Linked DNA regions of Homo sapiens: regions 1, 2 and 4 are each linked to region 3. Evidence: promoter capture Hi-C in 16 types of primary human blood cells and fetal thymus (Javierre and others, 2016). All regions are on one chromosome and are shown on one strand. The core of a region is centred on a gene start or on the middle of the fragment in contact, and the rest is flanking DNA. Distances in the headings are between cores, read along the strand shown. Region 1 has its middle 26 kb from the start of ALX4. Region 2 overlaps TSPAN18 (tetraspanin 18). Region 3 holds the start of CD82-AS1 (CD82 antisense RNA 1). Region 4 overlaps TSPAN18 (tetraspanin 18).

What was found. Contacts are between HindIII fragments. The CHiCAGO score rates a contact against its expected background, and 5 or more counts as called.
Region 1: a contact is called between a fragment that was not itself captured here and the fragment with the promoter of CD82-AS1 in region 3, in 1 of 17 cell types (total B cells). The highest score is 5.1, in total B cells.
Region 2: a contact is called between a fragment that was not itself captured here and the fragment with the promoter of CD82-AS1 in region 3, in 9 of 17 cell types (total CD4 T cells, naive CD4 T cells, megakaryocytes and 6 more). The highest score is 10.7, in total CD4 T cells.
Region 4: a contact is called between a fragment that was not itself captured here and the fragment with the promoter of CD82-AS1 in region 3, in 1 of 17 cell types (megakaryocytes). The highest score is 5.4, in megakaryocytes.

Annotation. Positions count from the first base shown.
Region 1 is chr11:44,334,438-44,337,731 of GRCh38, reverse strand. No RefSeq gene overlaps it. Among named protein-coding and RNA genes, the nearest start is that of ALX4, 26 kb to the right of the region's middle. RefSeq lists an enhancer at 2,591-3,159. The HindIII fragment of the contact is 1,953 bases long and covers 889-2,841 here.
Region 2 is chr11:44,898,348-44,901,749 of GRCh38, reverse strand. All of the region lies in intron 3 of TSPAN18 (tetraspanin 18), which reads right to left. LOC124902664 (a long non-coding RNA gene) reads left to right here. Exons shown (of 3, transcript XR_007062659.1): 3 at 432-612. Among named protein-coding and RNA genes, the nearest start is that of TP53I11, 51 kb to the left of the region's middle. The HindIII fragment of the contact is 1,915 bases long and covers 676-2,590 here.
Region 3 is chr11:44,604,029-44,607,198 of GRCh38, reverse strand. CD82-AS1 (CD82 antisense RNA 1) reads left to right here and starts at 1,862. Exons shown (of 2, transcript NR_182290.1): 1 at 1,862-2,181; 2 at 2,469-2,691. It overlaps CD82 (CD82 molecule), which reads right to left. Exons shown (of 10, transcript NM_002231.4): 5 at 2,017-2,141; 6 at 1,770-1,844. The HindIII fragment of the contact is 7,514 bases long and covers 1-2,495 here.
Region 4 is chr11:44,872,613-44,875,759 of GRCh38, reverse strand. All of the region lies in intron 3 of TSPAN18 (tetraspanin 18), which reads right to left. Among named protein-coding and RNA genes, the nearest start is that of TP53I11, 77 kb to the left of the region's middle. The HindIII fragment of the contact is 2,651 bases long and covers 434-3,084 here.

The sequences.
Region 1 (3,294 bases), core at 616-3,115, 270 kb after region 3:
AATGGTTAACATTTGGGGTTGTTTGGAGAGAATTGCTCCAAGCTGTTTTTGTTCAAAACGTATAGATTTAAGGTAAGAAGCACTGTGTAGCCTGTACAGGTCACAACCACTTTGGAAGCAAGTTCCCCATTACTTTTCAACTGACTAAGGTAGGGATGAATTTTGTTTTATCTTTCTCTAACTGGGTAGTAGTTTCGTGGATTTTCACTTGGAAGCGCACTAGAAAAATGTTTACTTGTCTTGTTCTTTTTATCACTCTGCCAGCGTTTTCTCCTTTCAGATTATATCTTTCTGGAAGCTCCTTTCTCCCACTTCACTCTTGCCTTCAGGCCAATAAAGCGTTGACCCAGAGCCCCAAGTCTCTCCTAGCCCACTGCTCTCCTAAAGAAAGAACTCGGAGTTTGTGGGAATTCCCCTGTTTTCCTCTTCATGGAAAGGACAATTTTATACACATATATTATATACCTATTGTAATCTGAAGGTTCCCCATGGCGAGCACTTAGGATGTGAGGGACCCCAGTCTGCAAAACTTCTAGCCACAGACAAAATTGTTTGTTTGGATAAAAGTGGAAATAGATGCCTATTTATCTGGGAGGAATTGCATCCATCGTCTTATGGGAAGTATTTGATTTTTAGTAATTATTTGGCAAATCCAAAGAGGGAATTGGGTATCCATTTGAAACTTCTGTTTTCTATCCATTTTGTTAAATGAGTTTCTCTTCCCCTTAAACTCCACATTAAATTGTTTCCCTCAAGGGAAAAAAAAGAAGAAAAAAACAGCATTTTCAACTCTAAAAAGCATAAATACTTCTTTAGAAGAAAATATCAAAGGTATCTTAGGGAGGAAATGAAAATAAATGTGTTATAGAAGGACAGTTTTAAAAAGCTTTTGGGGCTCTGCATTTGAACGGAAAGACTATGGAAACTCGTACTAATAACCAGTTTCCCTGGGGCTGTTCATTTGCAGGGATCGGCTCCTCCAGTCAGCATTTTAAAACCCTTCTTCAAAATATCTGTATTTGTTTCCAACTTCACAAATGGATTGTCACATGCCTTCACCATTTACCAAAAATAAAAAAGAAAGAAAAATTAAAAAGGAGAATGGAGTGTATTTAAACCGGAAAATTTATCTTCAGGTGAAAACTTTGAGGAAAGGAATCTATATTAAGAGTTCTATTTTTAAAGGCAGTGGTCAGGGCAGATTAAAACAGGAATCGGTGACAATAAAATGTCATCAGATTCTTATACTTTTGCTGTACAGAACATCATCAAAGTCACCCCATATGTTAACATGCTTTTTATATATCTTTTGTATGCGGCATCAATTTAATTTTTATCAACAATGACAGTCCCAATCTCCAAATATTTGTGTCAGGGGCAGGAAAGGGATACATACCCCAAAAATACCCTCAAAATTATATACTGATGTCAACACCACTCTTTAGAGCTGTTATGTTTTTGTGGCTTTTCTTTTGTAAAAACATCTTTTCCACAGGCTTTTTGTCCATACCATATCTGTATGATTTTTTTTTTTCTCGCAGTAATGGGGACCACAGCTTTTGGCTACGCCATCAGCAATATCGTTTAATTTATTCTTTCAACCTCAGTGAAGCCATGCTCTTTCTTTTTTGGTTGATCCGTGCTGGAAATGAATTCCACAATTTGCAGTCCCAGGCATCCCTTACCCCATAACAACACAAGATGTGGAAAATGTGCTTAAGATTGAAAATCACATTTTGGAAATCCAAGCGTTTCTCTTTCCAGACTTTTGCTAAGCCGCTTATTGTACAAATCCAGGTATTACTTAACTATCTCTAGGGGTAAAAAATAATAATAATAATAATAATAATGATAAAATAAAGCACGATGTACTATTTATTGTATTTCATTAGATAAACCTCAAAAAAGTAAACATTTTCTCCCCGCGATTCACCCGCTGCCTGTTTCGGATTTTAATGCAATGGGTATGTTTTTTCAGGATCTCGAATATTTATATTTCAAAACTTAAATATCTTTATTTAAACCATACAGCCTCAATCTCCAAAACCCTGGATTTTTAATATTTTGGCGATTGAAATCTGGCATGTTTGAAGGTTTGTCTCTCTGCAGAAGTCTCTTGTTATCCAAAGCAGAAAAAACAAACTAGGGACGGATTACGAACTGCCCAACGCTGGCTGCCAGCACAGCGAAAACACTGCCTCCGACTCCCTCAACGCCCTGCCCTGGGGATAACTACTTTCTTAATAATAAATAGGGAAAATGTAAAATGTTTTCTTTAAATTAAAAATCGAAACGAATTGTTTTAATGAATATTTCTGGTTATGAGGGTAAAGCCTGCCTTCGTGTGTACACTTTCTGAAGAAAAATTTCCTGTGTGGTTTTCCCTGTGAGATCAAAAGGAACTAATTAACTTTTCTATAAGGTAAACAAAACTTTAACTTGAAATATCCCCATGAAGTATGTGGGAAGTGAGCTTTTGTGTGAGTGAAAGCAGGAGGGAGAGAGAGAGGGAGGAAGGGAGAAAAGGGAGGAGAGAGTTGGGTTTAATTTTATATTCAAAATCGTCTCATGCTCAGAAGGTATTGGAAACTCCTTACCAAGAGTCAGCCTTCTTTATCCTTCCCCATTACCAAAATGATATTTAAATCAAAGGCTGAAATGTTGCCAAGTTCAAATCCCTTGTAAGATTAATAGGGCATTGTTCTGTTCATAGAAAATGTGTTCTTCTTAGAGCCCCTTTAAGAAGAACTGGGTGTGTGAAGGACCATTCGGGAAAGAGTGTGGGAAAGGGAAAAATCTGGAAAAGCGGCCCTGGATGGGGGTGGAAGGAAGAGAGAAGCTTCAAGAGGACGGACAACCACTGCCCCACCCCCAGCCAGAAGTAATTGGGGTCAGGGGACCAGGCCTCCAGCTGGAGCCCCATTTCCCCAGGACCTGGCTCATTTACAGAAGAATGAGGAACAGGAGGAGCAGCTCTGAGGGGTCCCTGAAGGTCTTTGAGGTCATGCCCTTCTGGGTACTGACCCCAAGCTGTGCTGAGAGACTGTGGGGAGCTCCTGCCTGCCCCTCCCAGGAGGAGCAGCTGCAGCCGAGGGCTGGTCCCCCTCCCAGGACAGCGAGTCCTTGGCCTGTTTCGGGTGAGCTGCCTGGGTCCAGGGGGCCCCTGGCTGGGCCTCTTTGCCCTTGCCAGGGTACAGACAGGCAGCCAGCCCAAAGGACAGAGACTGGAGGAAGCAGTGTGTGTGTGCATGAGAAGAAGTCTCTGCTGCAGGGCTCAGCAAGGCAGACACTGGG
Region 2 (3,402 bases), core at 384-2,883, 290 kb before region 3:
ATCCAGGAGCAGATGTTCAAGCAGAGAGTTGGGCACAAGGAGCACTGGCCTAGGAGTCTGGAGCCCAGGCTTCTGCTCTGTAAGTCACTGTTGTGTGACCTTGGGCAAATCACTTTCTGTCTCTGGCCTCAGTGCCTTCTTGTGTCAAATGGCAGAGCAGGAATCTGATGGCCTGACTGTTTCCTCTGCCAGGCCCTGACTTGGATGAATGGGCCTTTGGAGGCAGAGCAGCCACAACAGCGAGAGGCTGAGTAGTCCTGTGCAGGAGGCCAGGCTCTGCCATCCCTCCCTCTGCCCACCCAGGCAGAGCTTCTCTCCAGGGTAGGATCCAGCTTCAGCCGGCTCTGGCTCTTTAGCAATTAAGGGGTGTAATAAATATGGCAGCTCATAAACGGACTACCTGTATTTATTGTGTACCACATTCATTGCAGATTACATCTCATGGCCCGGGCTTGCGGAGTGCTGGGCTCCCAGACAAATGCAATCAAAGGAGACATGTCTCCTGGGAAGAGCCTCCCACAACCTCAAAGGTGAGTCAGGTAGGAAAATAGATGATGTGAGCCTGGGGGCCGGTGAAGAATATGGAGGCCCGGGTTCCAGTTTCAGAGCAGGGTGGATGAGTAAAAAGAGGGCTTTGGTGCCCAACAGGGGATTGTGTCCCAGCTCTGCCAAGCTTAGCTGGTGGGGCAAGTTACTAAACTGCATACAACTGAATTCCTTCTCTGTAAAGTCAGGATAAAAACAATGCCTTCCTCGGCCGGGCGCGGTGGCTCACGCTTGTAATCCCAGCACTTTGGGAGGCTGAGGCGGGCAGATCACCTGAGGTCAGGAGTTTGAGACCAACTTGGCCAACATGGCAAAACCCTGTCTCTACTAAAAATAACAAAAATTAGCTGGGGGTGGTGGCAGGAACCTGTAATCCCAGCAACTCGGGAGGCTGAGGCAGGAGAATTGCTTGAACCCAGGAGGAAGAGGTGGCAGTGAGCCGAGATCATGCCATTGCACTCAGCCTGGGCAACAAGAGTGAAATTCCATCTCAAAAAAAAAAAAAAAAAAAAAAAAAAAAAAAGCCTTCCTCAAGTTGTATGGAAAATACTGAGCACAGGGCTTGGCACATGGTAGCTAATAATAGTAACCACTGGCATACACTGAGTTCTTACTATGTGCCAGGGAACACACACAATTTCATTGAATCCTTGTAAAGCTCTGGGAAGTAGGTAATGTCATTCTATTTTTCAGAGGAGGGAACTGAGGCTCGGAGAGGTGGAATCACTTGTCTAAGGTCACACAGTACAGAAGTGCCTGAGCCAGAATTTGAACCCACGCCTGTCTTAATCTGGGGCCACAACTCCTAATCAGCATTCTCAATGAATGAGAATTCCCTTGCCCCATTCATCCATCCTCCTCCAAAGTGCAGACCTGTCTTCACACCACCTATGCCATTTGATCTCCCATTATTCTCCAGCAGGGACAGCCTCCCAGGCCATCACCCACCGCCAGGCTGAAGCCTAGAGACCAGGGCTTGCCTGCTCCATCCCCTATAGAGGCCTACTGAATGTGGGGACACACCTCCACAGCCAATTGGTCAGACTAGAGTGACAGACACATGGGACCTCCAATCCCTGCCTGGCTGTTAGCTCCACCCATCCATGGATGACTTCTAGAAGTTAACTTCACGGCACAGTTTCCTAACTTACTTCTAAAGGGAGGGAAACCATGGAGAATCTCTGGAGGGTGGGGCGAGAAGAAAATTGAGACTATGAGGTCCAAGAGCTTTGTTATTGCTCAAAAAAGCGGCACTTAGAAAGGAGATGGTGGGCCTGTCTGCTGTGGGACATGATGCCCTCCCTGGGGCCAGTGGTGGGAGGCCCATCAAAGTCTCCCAATTTCCCTGAGCTAAAGGGTCCCTGAAGGGAGAGTAGCAGTGTGGGTGGGGCCTGTAGGGTCAGGTGGGACCCGGCCTATCACTTTCTTGCCTCATGACTATGGGTGAACTACATAACCTTTCCAGGCCTTTGCTTTCATGCCTGCAAAATGGGGACAGGAATGCTGACTTCCTCTAGAAATTGTGCTGAGCATGAAATGGTATCATAGAGGTACAGTCCCTCATACAGCACTTGACACATGGTGGCTCCATCCTGGCTCTGGGCTCTGTTCCTCCCTCCTGCCCCGCCACAAGGTGGCTCCTCCCAGCTGCTCTCCTAGACACCAGGCACATCAGCTTCAGCCTCAGGAGAGGGGAGGACTCTGGGGTGGAGGATTTTGAAGCAGGGAGAGTGACTGTGTTCAATGGTGCTCAAACTGGGTTCCTGAGACTAGCAACATCCTAAAGTTATTTTCAATATTTCAAATAACATCTCAGACATCAACCTCTCACCATGGGCTGACTCAAGGGGCAAGTGTCTTGGGTTTTGGAGCAATTAGACTACCCCCAGGTGGGGACCTTGTTTATTGGGTTGTTCAGAATATCTGGCCACCATGTCTGTATGACTTTGCAGAACAAAAACGAACATGCTATTTGGTGCATAAAATTCTTTAAATCCTGGGGCTCAGAGGGATGAAATGCAGGAGTCAGCATCAGAGGCAAGCTTGACTTAGTGGGAATTCCACTCCCTGTTTGTACCCGGAAAGCACTGGAGAGCAGTTTAGGTGCTGTGGTCTCCCTGTCCTTCCATGTGACGTCTGCCTCAGGATCTGCTCTGTGGATCCTGTGGTCTGAAGGTTCATGTGCCTGTCACAGCAACCCTCATCTGGCCATGGGAAGGTCCTGTGCTTACAGATGGGTGTCTAATACAACATGACCCTCAGATGCAGCCAACTGTTTCGTGTAAAACAAAACCAGGTGTTTAAGGATGCTATGGTTTGAATGTGACACACATTCAAAAGTCATATTGAAACTTAATACCAGATGTAACATAATGAAGAGGTGGGGCCTTTAAGAGGTGATCGGATCTCAAGGGTTCTGCCCTCATGACTGGATCAATCCACTCATGGATTAATGGGTTATCACAGGAGTGGGTTGGTCATCCTGAGAGTGGGTCTGTTATAAAAGCCACTTTGGCATTCTCAGCCCCCTCGCCATGTGATGCCCTGCACCGCCTTAGAACTCTGCAAAGAGTCCCCCGGCAGCAAGATGGCCTTCATCAGGTGCAGCTGCTTGACCTTGGGCTTCCCAGCCTCCAGAACTGTAAGAAATAAATGCCTTTTCTTTATAAATTATCCAGTCTCAGGTGTTCAGTCATAGCAACAGAAAACACACTAAGACAAAGGATTTCAAGGGAACTTCAGGTAAACTTCTGACACTACTGTTTGTGTAAGTGCTGACTTAGATCCAGCTCTTGTGTAACTTACATCACCAGCATATCAATAAAAGAAGTTCTTAATCGTCAAAGGTTGGGAAGC
Region 3 (3,170 bases), core at 613-3,112:
TGTTGATGTTGATGTTGGTATAGTGTTTTCTCAGTTTCCTTCCAAGAGGGATCTCAGGCAACTTGACCTTCAAGTGGTGAAGGGCAGGAGCCTATCTGGCTGCCGGCTCTGCCACCCTCCCTGGTGGACAAGAACTGGTGGCACTGGAAGCAGGGACCCTAAGGGTCTGCTAGGCCACAGGCCATGTGCAGCAGGGTCTGGGGACGGGTGAACTCAGGACTCGGAGTCAGGGAGCCTAGGCTGTCCTTACTCCTTCATCTGCAGGACGGGGATTCTCCCACGACCTTGAGAGGGCCTAGTGAGGATCTGCGAGAGGAGGAGTGTAACGTGGTCAACACTGTACTTGGTATATGCTGTGCATGGACTCAACTGGAGGGATGGTGGGTGTTAGAGTCACTGTTATCTATGTTGTTATTGCTCTTCATCTCAGAGCATCTGCTTCTCCATCTGTCAACATAAAACCCTGCAGAGCCATTGTGAGGACAAGACGCTGTATGGAAAGTTTCTAGAAGATCCCACGTGCACACAGTAGGTGCTTCTTACGTGATAACTGTGACTCACAATTAACTGGCTCACCCAACAGCCATTCTTGGCTCCTTTCTCTCTTGTGCCTCTGTCTTTAGAGTCTGAAAGTTGGATACTCACATTCTCAGCCTCTTTTGCAACCAGGGGTGGCTTTGTAACCCAGTCTGGGGAAGTCTGTTGGAGGACTTTTTTTTTTTTTTTTTTTTGAGACAGGGTCTCACTCTGTTGCCCCAAGCTCTGTTTCATGGCTCCCTGTAGCCTCAACCTCCTGGCCTCAAGGATCCTCCTGCCTCAGCCTCCTGAGTAGCTGGGACCACAGGTGAACACCACCATGGCTAGCATTTTTAAAAATTTGTTTGTAGAAATGGGGTCTCACCATGTTGCCCAGGCTAGTCTCAGAGCAATCCTCCCACCTCTGCCTCCCTAAGTATTGGGATTACAGTCATGAGCCACTGCGCCTTTTCTGATAAAAGGGATGGCCATGTCTGGCACTGCCCACTTCCCCATCTTCAGGCCACAGCGGCACAGACATCGTGCCTGGTGCTGTGGCAGCCATCTTGGAACCACGAGGTAAGTGTCATAATGCAGGAAAGCCATCCCAGCGAGGATGCTCAACAGCCAGAACCAGGGCCTCTGAGCTTCCAAACCAGACTTCCGGTCAAGTCAACCACAGATGTCCTTCAACTTTAAGCCGCTGTAAGTCTGATTTTCTGTTTCTGAAAGCTGAACATCTCCCCTCGGACACAAGACTGATGTTTTTATTAACGGTCTCCTTCTAAACCTCATTTGTGGGTGAGTGGCATGGATTTAATAGTTGCTAAAGTATCTTAATAATAACAAGAATAACATTTATTGAGTACTTATGGTGCCATGCGCTATGTGTTTCACTCAGATAATCTCGAATAATCTTTGCAACCACTCTGAGAGTTCAGTTTTCTTATTGTTTCCATTTTACAGATGGTGGAACAGGCACATAGAGGCAAGCAGCTTGCCCAAGGCCACACAGCTAGAAAGCAGGGGGGTCAGGCTAAGATCCAGGCCCAGCGGGGACTGCCCACACCTGCCGCCTTCTCTTCTAACGCTCCCCCATTTGATCACAAGGAATAGTGTCCAGGAGGCCGTCCCTGACACCTACTGGATCTGTCTGTGACAACTGGGGGGGTTCCTTGTCCATCCCCCACACTCAGTCAATCACCCCCATGGTTGGTCCAGCCCAGTGAAGAGGGAGGGAGAGAGGGGCTTACCTTGCCCATGTTGAAGTAGAAGAGGGCCCCGGCCGTCACCTGGGCAATGAGGATCAGGAGCAGGAAAGCAAAGTACTGGGGACACAGAGCAGGCACAAAGTCAGCTGAGGGTCCCCGACCAGGTGCACCCAGCCTGCGTGCCCCGAGAGATGCTCTCCACCCGATGTTACGGCCAGCGCCGCGGTCAGGCTGCACTCGGCTGGATGAGAGGAAATGGGCAGGCAGCTGCGGAGGGATCCGTACTCACCAGCCCCAGCAGGCAGCGGACCTCGTTGACGGCGCCGATGCAGCCCAGGAAGCCCATGAGCATAGTGACTGCCCCCACGCCGATGAAGACATAGGCCCCCATCCTAAGCGAGCTGGAGGAGGTTTCTAGGGGGAAGAAGAAGTACAAAATCAGTGGGCACAGCAGGTATAAACACCTGGCCTAACCGTCCAGGTCTTCTTCCGGATCCCCTCTTTGGAGCCAGGGTGTTGGGGTCAGCTGCATTCCCCTGCTGGCTTCTCACTGCCCAACAGGGAACCAGGTCACCCCCATCCCCACTTGTGTCCCTCCCCCAGTAAAATTGCAATCCACACCCTCATCCAGCCTAAGCCCCTTCCCGGCTTTATTTTTTACTTCGTAAGGCTTCTCAGGATTGAATAGACTACATTTCACTGATTCTTCTTGCTCATTGTCTGCTCTCCCCCTCCACCAAGGACCTGAGGTGCATGAGGGCAGAAGCTTCACTTTATTCCTGGGGAACCCCCAGCTCGAACAGCGCCTCTCGCAGTGAGGTGCTGTGCACAGTGAATATCTGCGGAATTGACAGACAAGAGGCTGGCTGGTTCTCCAGGGGCCACTGACATTAAGATTCCAAGCTGATTTTTAACCCGCCTTCCTTCTTGTCCATATAATAACAAACACCAGCCTTTCTTGCCCACTCACTGTGCCTCATGGGCTTTCCACACGCCGTCTCCAACTCTGACATCACCCTGCCTGGCAGGCACTAGCATGGCCATTTCACAGAAGAAAAAAATGAGGCTCAGAAAGGCGAACAGGCAAGGGCCTGAGCTGGAATTTGAAAATATGCAAATCTCCAGTGCCACACTCTTTCCACTGATGCACGGGGCACATGTATTGCTACAGGTGTGCTGCATGTTCATTCGGCCAAGAAATGTTTACTGGGTGCCCACTTCATGCCAGGCACTGTGCCAGTTGCTGGGGATGCAGAAGAGTGACTAACAAGGTCTGACATTTGGGGGTGGGGAGTGGAGACAAAAAGTACACAATACAGGTTTTCTGGTTGTGTTGGGCGCCATGAAGATACCAAAGCTGGCTAACTGCAGAGAACTGCTGGGCTGGGAGAGGGTCAGAATGGGTCGACGAAGGCCAGCCTGAGCCAGTGACATTTGAGCCAA
Region 4 (3,147 bases), core at 510-3,009, 270 kb before region 3:
ATTTTACAGGCAAAAAACTGAGGCTCACAGGAAATGAAGCCACTTCTCTGAGGCCAAGAGCTAGAAATGACTGAGCTGGGACTTGAGTCTGGATCAATGTGGGGACAATAAGCTCGACTCCCAAGGTAGTTACAAGGATTTGATGAGATAATTTTGCACAGGGCAAGTGCTCTGCACATAATTACGTGCTGAATGCTGTAACATCTTCTCAATTCCATTTCGTAATGAGAGCAAGCACTGTGAATTGGGTTGTGCAACCAGCTAGGATGAGGGAAGGTCGGTAGGTAAGATTTCCTGGTGACCTGGAGGGAGGTGGTAAATCCCTCGGCAGCCCCTAGCCTCCGAAGCCCCAAGGCCCAGACTTGCTCCCAGCCAGAGAGTATTGTTTGAGGATAAATATTATTTTATGCTCTAGCTTAATCCAAACCAAGCTTATCTTTCCCACCGAAATGCCCACAACCCAGAGAAAGCTAAGCCCTCTGCTGCTTGCCTAATTGCAGGCTTAGAGGTCTGGTTGGGGACACCAGCTCTCTGGAAAAGCCTGGTAAATGGTCTGGTATTTGGCAGTGGCATCAGAGAAGCTGGCTGTGAGTTGGGCTGTCTGGTGTTCTAGGCCCACATGGGCTGGGAGGGCCCCACGGGGGAGAATGTACCTCTGCAAGGGGCTGGTCCAAGGCCTCTCACTCTTGCATGGAGCTGCTGCTCCAGCCCTGGGGAAGATGTAACTACGGGGGAGCAGGGGAAGTGGGTCTTGCCCCCTCTGCCCCCAATTTAATGCTGATTCTCACTTGGTTGGAAAAGCAAAATGGGTCTGTGGGCTGCGGGACCCCTCCTTCTCTCCAGTTATGTCTGTTTCCGTCCCTCCTCTTCCAGTGGAATTCTCTGAAAAAGGGTTGCTAAAGGGAGGAGCGTGGTCTCAGCAGGCTCCATGCTGTTGAGGGCTGGAAGATCCTCAAATGGATCAGGAGCCAGCCTGGGTGGAACCCAGCCCCAGCCTCTCCTCACAGCTTCCCCACTGGGAACTGCCAGGCCCGGCCAGCCATAGACCTGAGGGACAAAGATGTCCCCCTACCCAGGCACCAAGCATGCAATTAGTTCTCCGGCTGGTTCCCATCTCACCATTTTCCTCTTTCTCCCTGGGGTGTTTTTAGAAGGATACCAGGGAAGAGAGGTGATTAGTGCCAGGCTTTGCAATCAAGATAGACTCGGGCATGAATCCTTGCTCTGTGACTTGGGACAGCTGAGTTGCCTTCTCTGTGCCTCAGTTTGCTTGTCTGTAAAATGGGATTGCTATAGTACTATCTCACAGTGTTAGAGGGAGGGCTAAATGACATCGAGTGCCTGGCACAGGGAGTGATCATTCTGGCTCTTCCAAGGGTAGAAGAGGGAGGTTTTGCCCAGAGGCAAAGGCACAAAGACCATTGACTATTATGGGGCCAGATGGGCCCTCCACTTGAGACCCACCCTTTTCCCCATGCCCAGGTCACCTGGCTGCCATCTCTGAATCAGGCGGAAGAGGTGGAGGTGAAACTAACATTGGTTACTGTATGTCCCATACCGTGCTAGGCCCATCTCCTTTTTACAGATGAGGAAATTGAAGCTCAGTGGTGTGAAGGAGTTTGCCCAGGAGTGCACGGCTCCATGGTGGAGCAGGAATGTGTCCTCATGCTTTTATACAGGGGTCTTTCCCACCCCACTCAACTCCTGAAGCCCCCTAAGAAACAGATGTAGGGCCATTCCCAGGCTGCGGGTGCTGGGTCCAAGGTGGGGACAGGTGAAGCCACCCAGCTGGCCTGGAGAGGCAGAGCTGGAACAAACCTAGCTATGCCAGCCTGGGAGGGCCCAGATCATATAAGCCCCCTGAGGGGCCAATCCTCATGTCTGTAGGTCCAGGAATGCCAGCTCCCTTCACAGATAACAGCTCCCTCTGGGCTCTGCCCCATGCTCTGCTCAGAGGGCTCTGAGGACCAGTGCCTCTGTATCCAGGTAACAGGCACATCCTAAGTCCTCTTCAAGTCACATGCCTACAAGTCAGGACAGCACTCCCCACAGACCTCCTCGAGGTGGCTCATTTTCAGCTTCCCAGAAGGAAATAAACCCTAAGGAGTGCAGACCCCTCAGCTTCCCCAGGCCTTGGAGGGACTGGGCTTTCAGCCACATCTCCTTAGAATTTCCTCCTTAGACTTAAGCCCTGTAAAATGCATCACTGGGTACAGTCCCTTCCATGCTGCTTTCTTTGTCCCCAGTCAAGGGGTTTGTCTGCTATGAGTTTGCATATTGTTCTTTCTGCAGCCACAAGAATAGGGCCACAGAACCCTGGAGCTGCCATGCAATCTCTGGGGTTGTCACAGAATCCCCAGGGTCCAAAATGTCTGCAACTTCCTAAAGCTGCTGTGGCATTCCTGGGATTATCCAGAATCTCTGGGCTGTCATGGTGTGCCCAGACCACATAGGTCCCTTGAGTGCTGGAAAAAAATCTGGGCCACCATGAAATTCCCTGAACTAACATGGAACCCCCAGGTTGCCACGAAGTGCTGGGCCACCCCAGGGTCTCTAGGCTATGCAGGGCCCCTGTGCTGCCAAGGGACCACTGGAATATCTTAGAATGGAAATTTTTGGCTGAGTCCTCCAACAACCCACAACCACATACTGTCACCTCCAGCCCCTTATCCAAGCATTTCGACCATCTTCTTCCTGACTTCAGCTGAAACATTCCTACCTCCAGGAAGCCCTCCCTGGTGTCTCTCCAGGCCTGGCTAGGTGCCACAGCCCTAGGTATCCTGGGCTCCATGACAGTTCCCTGGGTCTGCCCTGTCGGAACACTCAGCATGCAGTCCTGCCACTGCCTGGTCATGGATCTATCTCCTCTGAAGCACAGGCACCCTGTGCCCAGGCTGGGCAGGTGGCACTTAATAAATATTACTTAATATTAACTATAATATTATTTAACTGTGTGCTATTAACTTACTAGGCACTTGATGGCTGTGTGACCTTGGGCAAGTTGCTTCACCTCTCTGTGCCTCAGTTCCCTTTTGTATAATAAGGATACTAAGAGTATAGATCTCATAAGGCTGCTGTGAAGCTTCAATAACTTATGTAAAGCATTAAAGCAGAGTCTGGCATATAGTAAGCACAATATAGATACCT